Regions from separate parts of the Homo sapiens genome. Here region 1 is linked to region 2. The links are contacts of gene promoters, found by promoter capture Hi-C in blood cells and fetal thymus (Javierre and others, 2016). All regions are on one chromosome and are shown on one strand. The core of a region is centred on a gene start or on the middle of the fragment in contact, and the rest is flanking DNA. Distances in the headings are between cores, read along the strand shown.

Evidence for each region. The method cuts DNA at HindIII sites, captures the fragments that hold promoters and counts their contacts. A CHiCAGO score of 5 or more calls a contact.
Region 1: a contact is called between a fragment that was not itself captured here and the fragment with the promoter of MAP3K8 in region 2, in 1 of 17 cell types (total B cells). The highest score is 6.0, in total B cells.

What each region holds. Positions count from the first base shown.
Region 1 is chr10:31,938,134-31,942,865 of GRCh38, reverse strand. The region is part of intron 2 of LOC107984219 (a long non-coding RNA gene); the gene reads right to left. Among named protein-coding and RNA genes, the nearest start is that of ARHGAP12, 12 kb to the right of the region's middle. RefSeq lists an enhancer at 1,204-2,403. The HindIII fragment of the contact is 708 bases long and covers 1,585-2,292 here.
Region 2 is chr10:30,431,348-30,436,186 of GRCh38, reverse strand. It overlaps MAP3K8 (mitogen-activated protein kinase kinase kinase 8), which reads right to left and starts at 2,003. Exons shown (of 9, transcript NM_005204.4): 1 at 1,809-2,003. RefSeq lists enhancers at 502-1,039, 1,164-1,213, 1,504-1,603, 2,324-2,463, 3,135-4,016 and 3 more and a silencer at 2,044-2,283. The HindIII fragment of the contact is 9,039 bases long and covers 1-2,622 here.

The DNA of each region.
Region 1 (4,732 bases), core at 689-3,188, 1.5 Mb before region 2:
TTCAATTAACCATTGAAGTGAAGGCATGGGAAACTTTACAGAAATAATGTGGATTTGCAACAAGGAAATTCAATATCAACACTTTGAAGAATCTTATTCATACAAGACTGGGAAAGCAGGCAGCAACTTGGTTTATTTGTGTGAAGCTATGGGAAACTATTTTTTATTTTTATTTGTGTAGAGATGGGGTCTCACTATGTTGCCCAGGCTGATCTTGAACTCCTGGCCTCAAGAGATCTCTCATTGCCTTGGCTTCCCAAAATGCTGGGATTACAGGCATGAGCTATTGTGCCTGGCTAGAAACTGTATTAGTAGATACTTTCCATTGGTTAAGAGCTGAAAAACATAATTAAAAGTAGTGTTAGAGAAGCCACATGCTCGGATGCAGAGCCAACACAATTTGTCTGTCAAACCCAAGGGAGATGGTTTTTGTTTTACCTTTTTCCCCCAATTTCTTTAACTATTATACAACTTTTGCTTTCTTTCATATATTTTCCCCCATATGAAATAGGATTTCATATATATTTAGTTAAATTCTCTCTTATTCTACACACACACACGCACACAAAATAGAAAGTTAATCAAACAGAAAAAAATGGTCAGAAAGTTCTACATGGCAAGGACTTTTCTGTTTTTTTTTTTTTGAGACAGGATCTTCCTTTTTTGCCTAGGGCAGAGTGCAGTGGCACAATGCTGGCTCACTGCAACCTCTGTCTCCTGGGTTCAAGTGATTCTCGTCCCTCAGCCTCCCTAGTAGCTGCGATTACAGGCAGGTGCCAACACACCTGGCAATTTTTTTTTTAGTAGAGATGGAGTTTCACCATGTTGGCTAGGCTGGTCTCGAACTCCTGTCCTCAAATGATTCACCTGCCTTGGCCTCTCAAAGTGCTAGGATTACAGGCATTAGCCACTGTGCCCGGCTATTCTAGGCTTTTTCTTTTCTTTTTTCTTTTATTCTTCTTTTATTTCTTTTTGAGACAGAGTTTTGCTCTTGTTGCCCAGGCTGGAGTGCAATGGCACGATCTCTGCTCACCTCAACCGTCACCTCCCAGGTTCAAGCGATTCTCCTGCCTCAGCCTCTCAAGTGGCTGGGATTACAGGCATGTGCTACCATGCCCAGCTAATTTTGTATTTTTTAGTAGAGGCGGGGTTTTTCCATATTGGTCAGGCTGGTCTCAAACTCGCAATCTCAGGTGATCTGCCCACCTCGGCCTCCCAAAGTGCACGGATTACAGGCGTGACCCTGGCTCTAGTGCTTTTTCTAAGTAGCCATGTTATTTGCCTGTTTCTCTTCCTTTTGTTAAAATAAATCTTTTGGACTTAGCACACCGTGGATAGTGAATAGATATTTCAGAGTCAGAGAACAGTTCACTTTGATTTCACAGATTTTATAGAATATGCAAAGCACAGAGGCTTTACTGCACATCTAGATTTAAACTTGGTAGTCCTGACAATTCTAGAATCTGTGATGTTATACCAGGAAATGAAAGCTAAAACTATCTCATTTTAGCCATTAATTTTAACCTTTTCTCTCACTAACCTTCAAACAAAACCAGTAAGGTGGTGAAAAAAACGTTCAAAGCTTTAAACCTTCCCACTGACCTTACACCCCAAAGATCAAAGTGAAGACTATGCTGTGATTTGCCTAAAAGACAAAAAGATGAGAGATCAAGGCTCTGCATTAGTCATGAAGTGAACATTTGTCTCAAAATCAATCAAAATAGACTTGGCAGGAATATTGAATGAAGCCAACATTTTGCTCTTGTGCAACTGTCACAGATCACATAGTGGCTGCATTTTATATCTCATAGAATGGTGCCTCCAGCAATGTGAGTGAGAGCACTGGTATTTTCCTGACTCATAAGGACAGGAGTGTGCCGCCCGCTGAATCACCCTCCTCATTTCCGGGGGTGCCTGGGTGTTCCAAGACACTCATGGAGGATTAAATTATGGTTGCCATGACAGCTCCCTAAATGCTGTCTTGATAATATCAACAGCTATAGTATCAGTGTTCCCTGAATGCTGACTTATTTTCTCTTCCAAAACCTCAATAATTTTCGTAATCAAAGTTCTTCAATAGCTATGCAAATCTAAGGAATTAGTAAAAATCCTTTTTTTCTTAGATAGGTTGCCATATTAAGATACAACTCATCTCTTTCCATAAGATATATTCTTTTGAGTGAATGGTAATTGACATATGATGTTGTTTGTTGTATTTTTAGAAGGTATGAATAATATCAAAGTTAGAATAAAAATGGAAAGTTCTCACAATTTTTTAAAGTTATGGAAGCTTGTATTTGAGGACACAAATCTGAATTTTTTAAGCATTAGCTGGCATCCTGTGATAGAGGGGGCTGGTTTTACATGTGCCAGTGATTATGCAAATTACCATATGTAAGAACCTGCCTAGGTAAGAGGATGTTCTGTCCCTCTCCCTCTTCCATTCTAATGATTTGAGATATCAGTGAGTAGAGGCAAGGGAAGAAGTTCCTGGCAAACCTGTATTTTTATTTTAAAAAATCTCACTGTTGGGAGGTTGCAATATCTTTTAGGAGCATTACCTTAGAGCATTGAGTACTGAAGGTCACTTGCAGATGTCATAACGAACACCACAAAATGTTCAATGACCTTGATGCTTATTGAAATGTCTTCACTGAATGTTTTGAAACTGGGCAACTCTTGAGCCTTCTTTGCTGCTTTCTGATACAGTGTTCTCCTCTTTTCATTTCACTTTCTCTTAGGATGTTTGCTATTACTTTTTTGCTGAGATGTTCCTGGAATCCTTCTAATTTTAGTTGAACAAACATTTATCAAAGACCTGTTGTGTTCCCAAACTGTTCCTGTTTAGGAAAGCAGTTAATCAAGTGTATTAGTCAGGGTCTTGTCAGAGAGAAGTCCACTCAAATGAATTAAGTGGGAACAGACTTAAAGATAGGCTATTCACAAAGGTGAGGGTAGGTTAAGGGAACTTGTAAGAGACGGTGAATCGGGGAGCATTACAGAGCCTGGAGGGAGCAGGAACCATCTTTATCGTTTATTGTTATGATATGCCATATGCCAGGTTTTGCTCCTGAAACTATTTTCCATGAAATCCCCTTGTAATCTCTTTCTAAAATGAGAACAAGGGCATATTGCAAAAGGGAAACTGTGCCTTGATAGGAATGTGCTGATATATATTATCTCCTTTTATCCTCCCACCCACCTCAATATACCAATCCTATGGATTTTAATACTATAATTTGTTTGGATGTTTTTATCTACTGTACCAGATTATACAAATTTACATAAAGTTTCCTCCACCGATGTACTTACTGTTTGATACTTGCTAGAATTTCCAGTGCAATGTTGACTAGGAGTGGCAAAAGCATGAATTTTTGCCTTGTTCCCGATATTAGGGAAGGACTTTTATTTTTGAATCAAGAAATATTATTTATATCTTAGCTGTGTTTCATATAGAAACATTGTGTGCCCAAATGTGACAAATAGTAAATGTTTTTCATGTAGTCTAAATGATCTCAAATAATAAATTATTTATTGCTGATTTTTATTAATTTTAGGGTCATTTCCTTAGTGCCTGAGTGAAACTAAAATGAGTGTATATTTAATTTAGAGGATAACAGCAGAACAAATTATCAATTAAAATATATCTGAATTATTGATTGGGTGATTACACATTTTAAATTTGAAGGCCAATTACTAAATTTTCTTCTATTAGGCAGCCAGGGCTACATAATTTTGGAAAAAAGCTCTAGGTGGCAATCTGTCTCTTAGCCCTTTACTATGTTGAAGTCAAAAGAAAATAGAGATGAATCTCTAGGCATTTTATTTGGGAATCACAGAATTGTAATTCAGAGCATACACAGATTACAGAGGTTTTCCAGAGGCCCAAAGGACAATCCCAAAGTCAATTTTAGGTTAAAAAAACTTTTAAATTAGAATTTGGTTTTGGGAAAGTGGCAAAGATGTTAAAGGCTTAAAATATTTAATTAAAGTAGAATTGCATGCCATTGAGAAATAATAGCCATTTATTTAATCAGAGTGATAAATGAAAGACTTCAAAAGCAAATACAAGAAGTAACATAGGCCAGGCATGGTGGGTCATGCCTGTAATCCCAGCACTTTGGGAGGCCGAGGTAGGCGGATCGCTTAAGCTCAGGAGTTTGAGACCAGCCTTTGCAACATGGCAAAACCTCATCTCTACAAAAAATACAAAACTCAGCTGAGAGTGGTGACATGTACCTGTAGTTCCCAGCTACTTGGGAGGCTGAGGTGGAGGATTGCTTGAGCCTGGGAAGTTGAGGCTGCTATGAACTGAGATCACCCTGCTGCACTTTAGCCTGGGCAACAGAAGACGACCCTGCCTCAAAAATAAATAAAACTGGCCAGGTGTGGTGACTCACGCCTGTAATCCCAGCACTTTGGGAGGCTGAGGTGGGTGGATCACCTGAAGTCAGGAGTTTGAGACCAGCCTGGCCAACATGGTGAAACCCTGTCTCTACTAAAAATACAAAAATTAGCTGGGTGGTACGTGCCTGTAATCTCTGCTACTTGGGAGGCTGAGGCAGGAGAATTGCTTGAACCCAGGAAGTGGAGGCTGCAGTGAGCCAAGATCGTGCCACTAAACTCCAGCCTGGGCGACAGAGCAAGACTCTGTCTCAAAAAAATAAAAAAATTGGCCAGGCATGGTGGCTCACACCTGTAATCCTAGCACTTTGGGAGGCCAAGGCGGGCG
Region 2 (4,839 bases), core at 754-3,253:
GTATAAGATGATTTTTCCCTTGACACAGTTTACAATAAAAGTCCTCATAAAATTCCTACTTCCTAACCAAACAGAAAATTATGCCAGCTTTTGGAATTGGAGAGATGTGCAAATACAGTCAAAATTAGTTACACTGAATTATTTCAGAAATCAGCAATAAAATCACGAGGAAATTCTCTTCCTAAACATTAACATAATACTCTTGGCTGCCTCCATATACAGAAACAAAATGTGAGTGTTTCCTGGCAAGTGTGAATGAAAATGGCCAGCATAACAGCATATGCTTCTGCCTAACAAAGAATGACTATTACTTGTGTTATTTCTCATTTAAAATATTTTTTTAGGCCGGGCACAGTGGCTCATGCCTGTAATCTCAGCACTTTGGGAGGCCAAGGAGGGTGCATCACCTGAGGTCAGGAGTTCAAGACCAGCCTGGCCAACATGGTGAAACCCTGTCTCTACAAAAATTAGCCGGGCGTGGCGGCGGGCGCCTGTAATCCCAGCTACTCGGGAGGCTGAGGCAAGAGAATCGCTTGAACCCGGGAGGTGGAGGTTGCAGTGAGCCGAGATCGCGCCATTGCGCTCCAGCCTGGGCGACAAGAGTGAAACCCCCTCTCAAAAAAAATTTAAAAATTATATATACATATATACATATGTGTGCCAAAATAGTACATTCTCCCTCAGGGCACATTTCTGACTATGTTTTTGCTCTCAAAAAGCCCCGGATTATGCGTTTCAGGCGTATGGAAGGAAGGACCGACACTCTGCTTCAAAACCTCTACATGCCTCAACGTTCCCATTTGCTTTACACGACAAAGTCCTCATGGGCCGTATGCCAGACGTCCTGCACACAAACCTCAATCCGTCGCAGAGAGCTGGGGGCGTCAGCTGGAAGTGGATTACACTCTCCTTGGCACAAACGACTCAGGCCACAGGTATGTAAAGCAACTGCAAGAGCCTTTCTGTCCCTGTTTTTTATCAAGAGCAGCCTTTAATCTTGTCTTCCCAAAAGTGAAATAGACAAGCATCGCAACGTTTCTCTCTTACAGGCAGCCGGTGGCCTTCCCCTGTTAACTATGGAGACAATCCCTAGGCGTCCTTCTCCGCCCAGAGCTAGAAAAATTTCAGAGTCCTGATCATGCACTATCGCTCGAAAACAACTTCCGTGAAAATAACTTTTTTTTTCTCCTAGTATTCTTTCTTAGACCAAAAGCCCAGCCTTCGTGTTCTGCTATGACCTCTTTAGTCATGGGATAGAGTCCGGGTTACAAACTTGAATTTAGTTCCAGCCATTCACAAGTCTCTGGGCTCCGCCAACCCACACTCCCACTCCTTTCCTCCTGGTTCTCTAAGTCAAGGGAGCCTAAAAGGCTTATAAATTATCAAAGCACCCAGCATTTGGGAGGATCGGGTCCTCCAGCCTCCGAGCTGCACTCACCGGGTCTCGGGCAGGGAGAGTGCGGCCGTCCAGGCGGCGTCGGCAGCGGGAGGCGCAGTGACAGCGGGTCCCCGCTTCCCCGCGCACTGCCCAGACCAGCACTGCCCTGGCGCTGCGGATACGGGAAGGAGGAGGAAGGGGGAGGAGTCGCGAGTCTGCACCCCGTGAGACCCTTGCGCAAGGTGCTTTCCAGCTGTGCCTGGTGCAGCCGGCGACCCGCGAGCGCAGCTGTGGGCACGCCCCCACCTCTTCCCACGCCAGAGTTTTCCCCTCTGCTGGGGGCACCCTCCATTTCTGCATGGGAATCCCCGGGGCACCCAGGCGGGACGCGACCCGAAAGACACGCCGGAGACCCCCAACCCTGGATTACCTGCGGCCTTGGCGCTCCCACGCCGGCCGAGCGCTCCAGCCGCGGCCCCCCGAAGGTTCGGTGCGATGCTGGCTGCAGGCCTGTGGGAGCCGAGCACGCCGGGCCACTGGGATCCGGCGGCGGCAGCGGCAGAAGCAGGAACCAGGGCGCCGGACCCCAGAGCGTGGCGCGCAGTCCAGAGCGGAGCGGACGAGTGAGACCCGCGTCGCCCGCACGCTCAGACCGCCCTGCTCTGCCCCTGACTCACGGCGTCTGAGCCTGCCCAGGGGCGGCGCAGCGGACGCCAGCCACCGCCTCCCCGACTTTTCCATTTCCCCTTTCTCTCCGTAAACAGAAAGAGACTGCCCGGTTGCAGGGTAAGCCAGAGCCCCCGCGCTGGGAAATTCCGCGTCTCCCCCCCACCCGCCACCCCGCCGCCCCTCATTTGCCCTCTGGGCGCCCGGGCGGAGCTGGAGGCGGGACTAGGGAGGAGCAGAGCGGCGCGCAGGGAGGAGCGCGGGACGTGAGCTGCGGCCCGAATCGAGAGCCTGGGACGGGGACGAGTTTTCCCCCGGGCCTGGTGACCCAAGGCGTCTTAGTGGCGGAGTTGCAAGAGGTGGTTGTGCCCTTCCCGGTCCCCAGGGAAGGTCGTATATCTTAGTGTACTCGCGCCCTCGGCGCTTCTCTGGAGTCCCAGGGTCCGGCGGGAGGGCACGCTCCCGGGGGGCGGCGGGGAGGGCAGTCACCAGACCTTTTTCCGCGCGCCCCACGCTCTGGGGTGGGGACAGAGGCGCCGTGTGCCCTCCCAGCAGTGCTGCGGGAAGCCGGGGAAGCTTCGGGGCTTCTTGGAACCGCGACTGTGGGTCCGATTGCTAGTAGCACGGCCCCGCCTCGCCCAGATTTCGCTTCAAATTCACACACAAAGAGGGCAGTGACCCGTGGTGCGCACGCACACATTCCAACTTAGAGATTTCCAAGAGGCTGCGGCAGGGTGGGCCCGGAACCTGGTTGTTGGGCGCTCGGCTGGGAGCCTGTGCACTCCGCCAGCAGAACCTGGTTTTCTTCTCTGCAGTCTTTATTAAAATTGGTTATTTTGCGGCACCGCCTCATTAGGAAGCGTACTTGTACTATCTCCCCGCTCCCGCCTACCGCTAACCCTCAGTCCTAGCTGCTCATCTGGGGTTTTCCTTCTAGAGTGTCAAGCTTTTACTCCAGGTGTAACCGGAAGAGAGTTCTAGAGAAAAGCGCCACTCTCCCGAAATCCACTCTGCGGGACATTCCCAATGCCCCGCCACCCCCTCCCCCTACATTTCCCACGTATCAAGCACCCACTAGGAACCAGGCATTCGGCTAGAGCGCGGAGAGCTAGGAGCCATGTAAGGTCGACATCCTCTCTCTCTCTCTCTCTCTCTCTCTCTCTCCCCCCCCACCTACGGCCCAGGAGGTGGGGTGTCCCAGGCACAACCCAGATTCAAACGCGGTCACACTCCAAGTCCACGCCCTATTCTTCCCAGTGCCCAGGTCCGTGCTCCCTCTGCAGTTTCTAGATTGCCTCCGCGCGGTTGCGCACGCCTGTAATCCCAGCGCTTTGGAGGCCGAGGCGGGAGGATCACTTGAGGTCAGGAGTTGGAGACCAGCCTGGGCAACATAGCTACCCCGTCTCTACAAAAAATCTAAAAATTAGCCAGGCATGGTGGCTCACGCGTGTCATCCTAGCTCCTCGGAAGCTGAGGTAGGGGGATCCCTTGAGCCCAGCAGTTCGAGTCTGCCGTGAGCTATGATTGCGCCATGGCACTCCAGCCTGGGCGACAGAGCGAGGCCTTGTCTCAAATTTAAAAAATAAAATAAAACAAAAAAATTTTTGAGACTGAGTTTCGTTCTTGTTGCCCAGGCTGGGGTGCAATGGAGCGATCTGGGCTCACCACAACCTCCGCCTCCCTGGTTCAAGCGATTCTCCTGCCTCAGCCTCCCGAGTAGCTGGGATTACAGGCATGCGCCACCACGCCCGGCTAATTTTGTATTTTTAGTAGAGATGGGGTTTCTCCATGTTGGTCAGGCTGGTCTCAAACTCCCGATATCAGGTGATTCGTCCGCCTCAGCCTCCCAAAGGGCTGGGATTACAGGCGTGAGCCACCGCGGCCAACCAAAAATAAAATTTAAAAAAAAAATTTGCCTTGTACCTTCTCTAGAGCCCTCCACATTTCTGCTATGGAAAATGAATTACAATACAACCCGAGGATGTATTGAGAGAATTGCTGGAGGAGATAGGTTAGTTGAGGTGACAAGCCAGGGGCTTTTTGCAGGACCTTAACTCGCAGACAACAAGCCCAGGTAGCAAATCCAACGTCGAGGGCCGATTGACTGAATGGGCACTGTCATCCGTCAAGTTATTTTAAATACGAGAGCGATTTAATTTATATTCATTCACCTCATGAAGCAGGGCTTTGCCATTCCCTCCAAATATCCAGGCAGTCCCTTGCACCTAGAGGAGAACCCCTTCCTGAACCCTCCGCCTTTCTGATCTTGGAGGGAGGGAAGGCAGCTTCCACCAACCCGGCAGCACTGACCCGGCAGAAGCAGCCTGGGCCGGGGTTGGGGAGGAGAAGCCCCGCTCGCTTGCGCGCCGGATGGGTGGAATTTGGCACTGGCTCAAGCGGGTTATCCCAGTCTCAGCTGAAGCCGAAGTTATCAGTACACTTTTGGCCTTTTCGCTGGAAACCAGGTTAGCACAGGTTGTTACCTCTGATTGTAACGTGAGAAACAGAGACGTCTCTTTCTCTACTGCCGTGTTTAGACAACAAAGGATGATCTTTACACGAGTTTTAAAAATAGAACCATGGAACCACTCCCCTCCCCACCCGCCTTGTGTGAGCTCATTAAAACCACACCTAATCTTCTGGGAACTGCATTATTAGCCTTACTTCCTACACAGAAGTCTCCCAAATATAGCTGCATTTTAGGGAGCTGGTGAAATGGCTGGTCTAGCAGGGTTCTCTCTTGCTTCTGGCTTAATCCAGAGCAGGTTCATCTGTTGGGGTAAATTAGAAGGTTT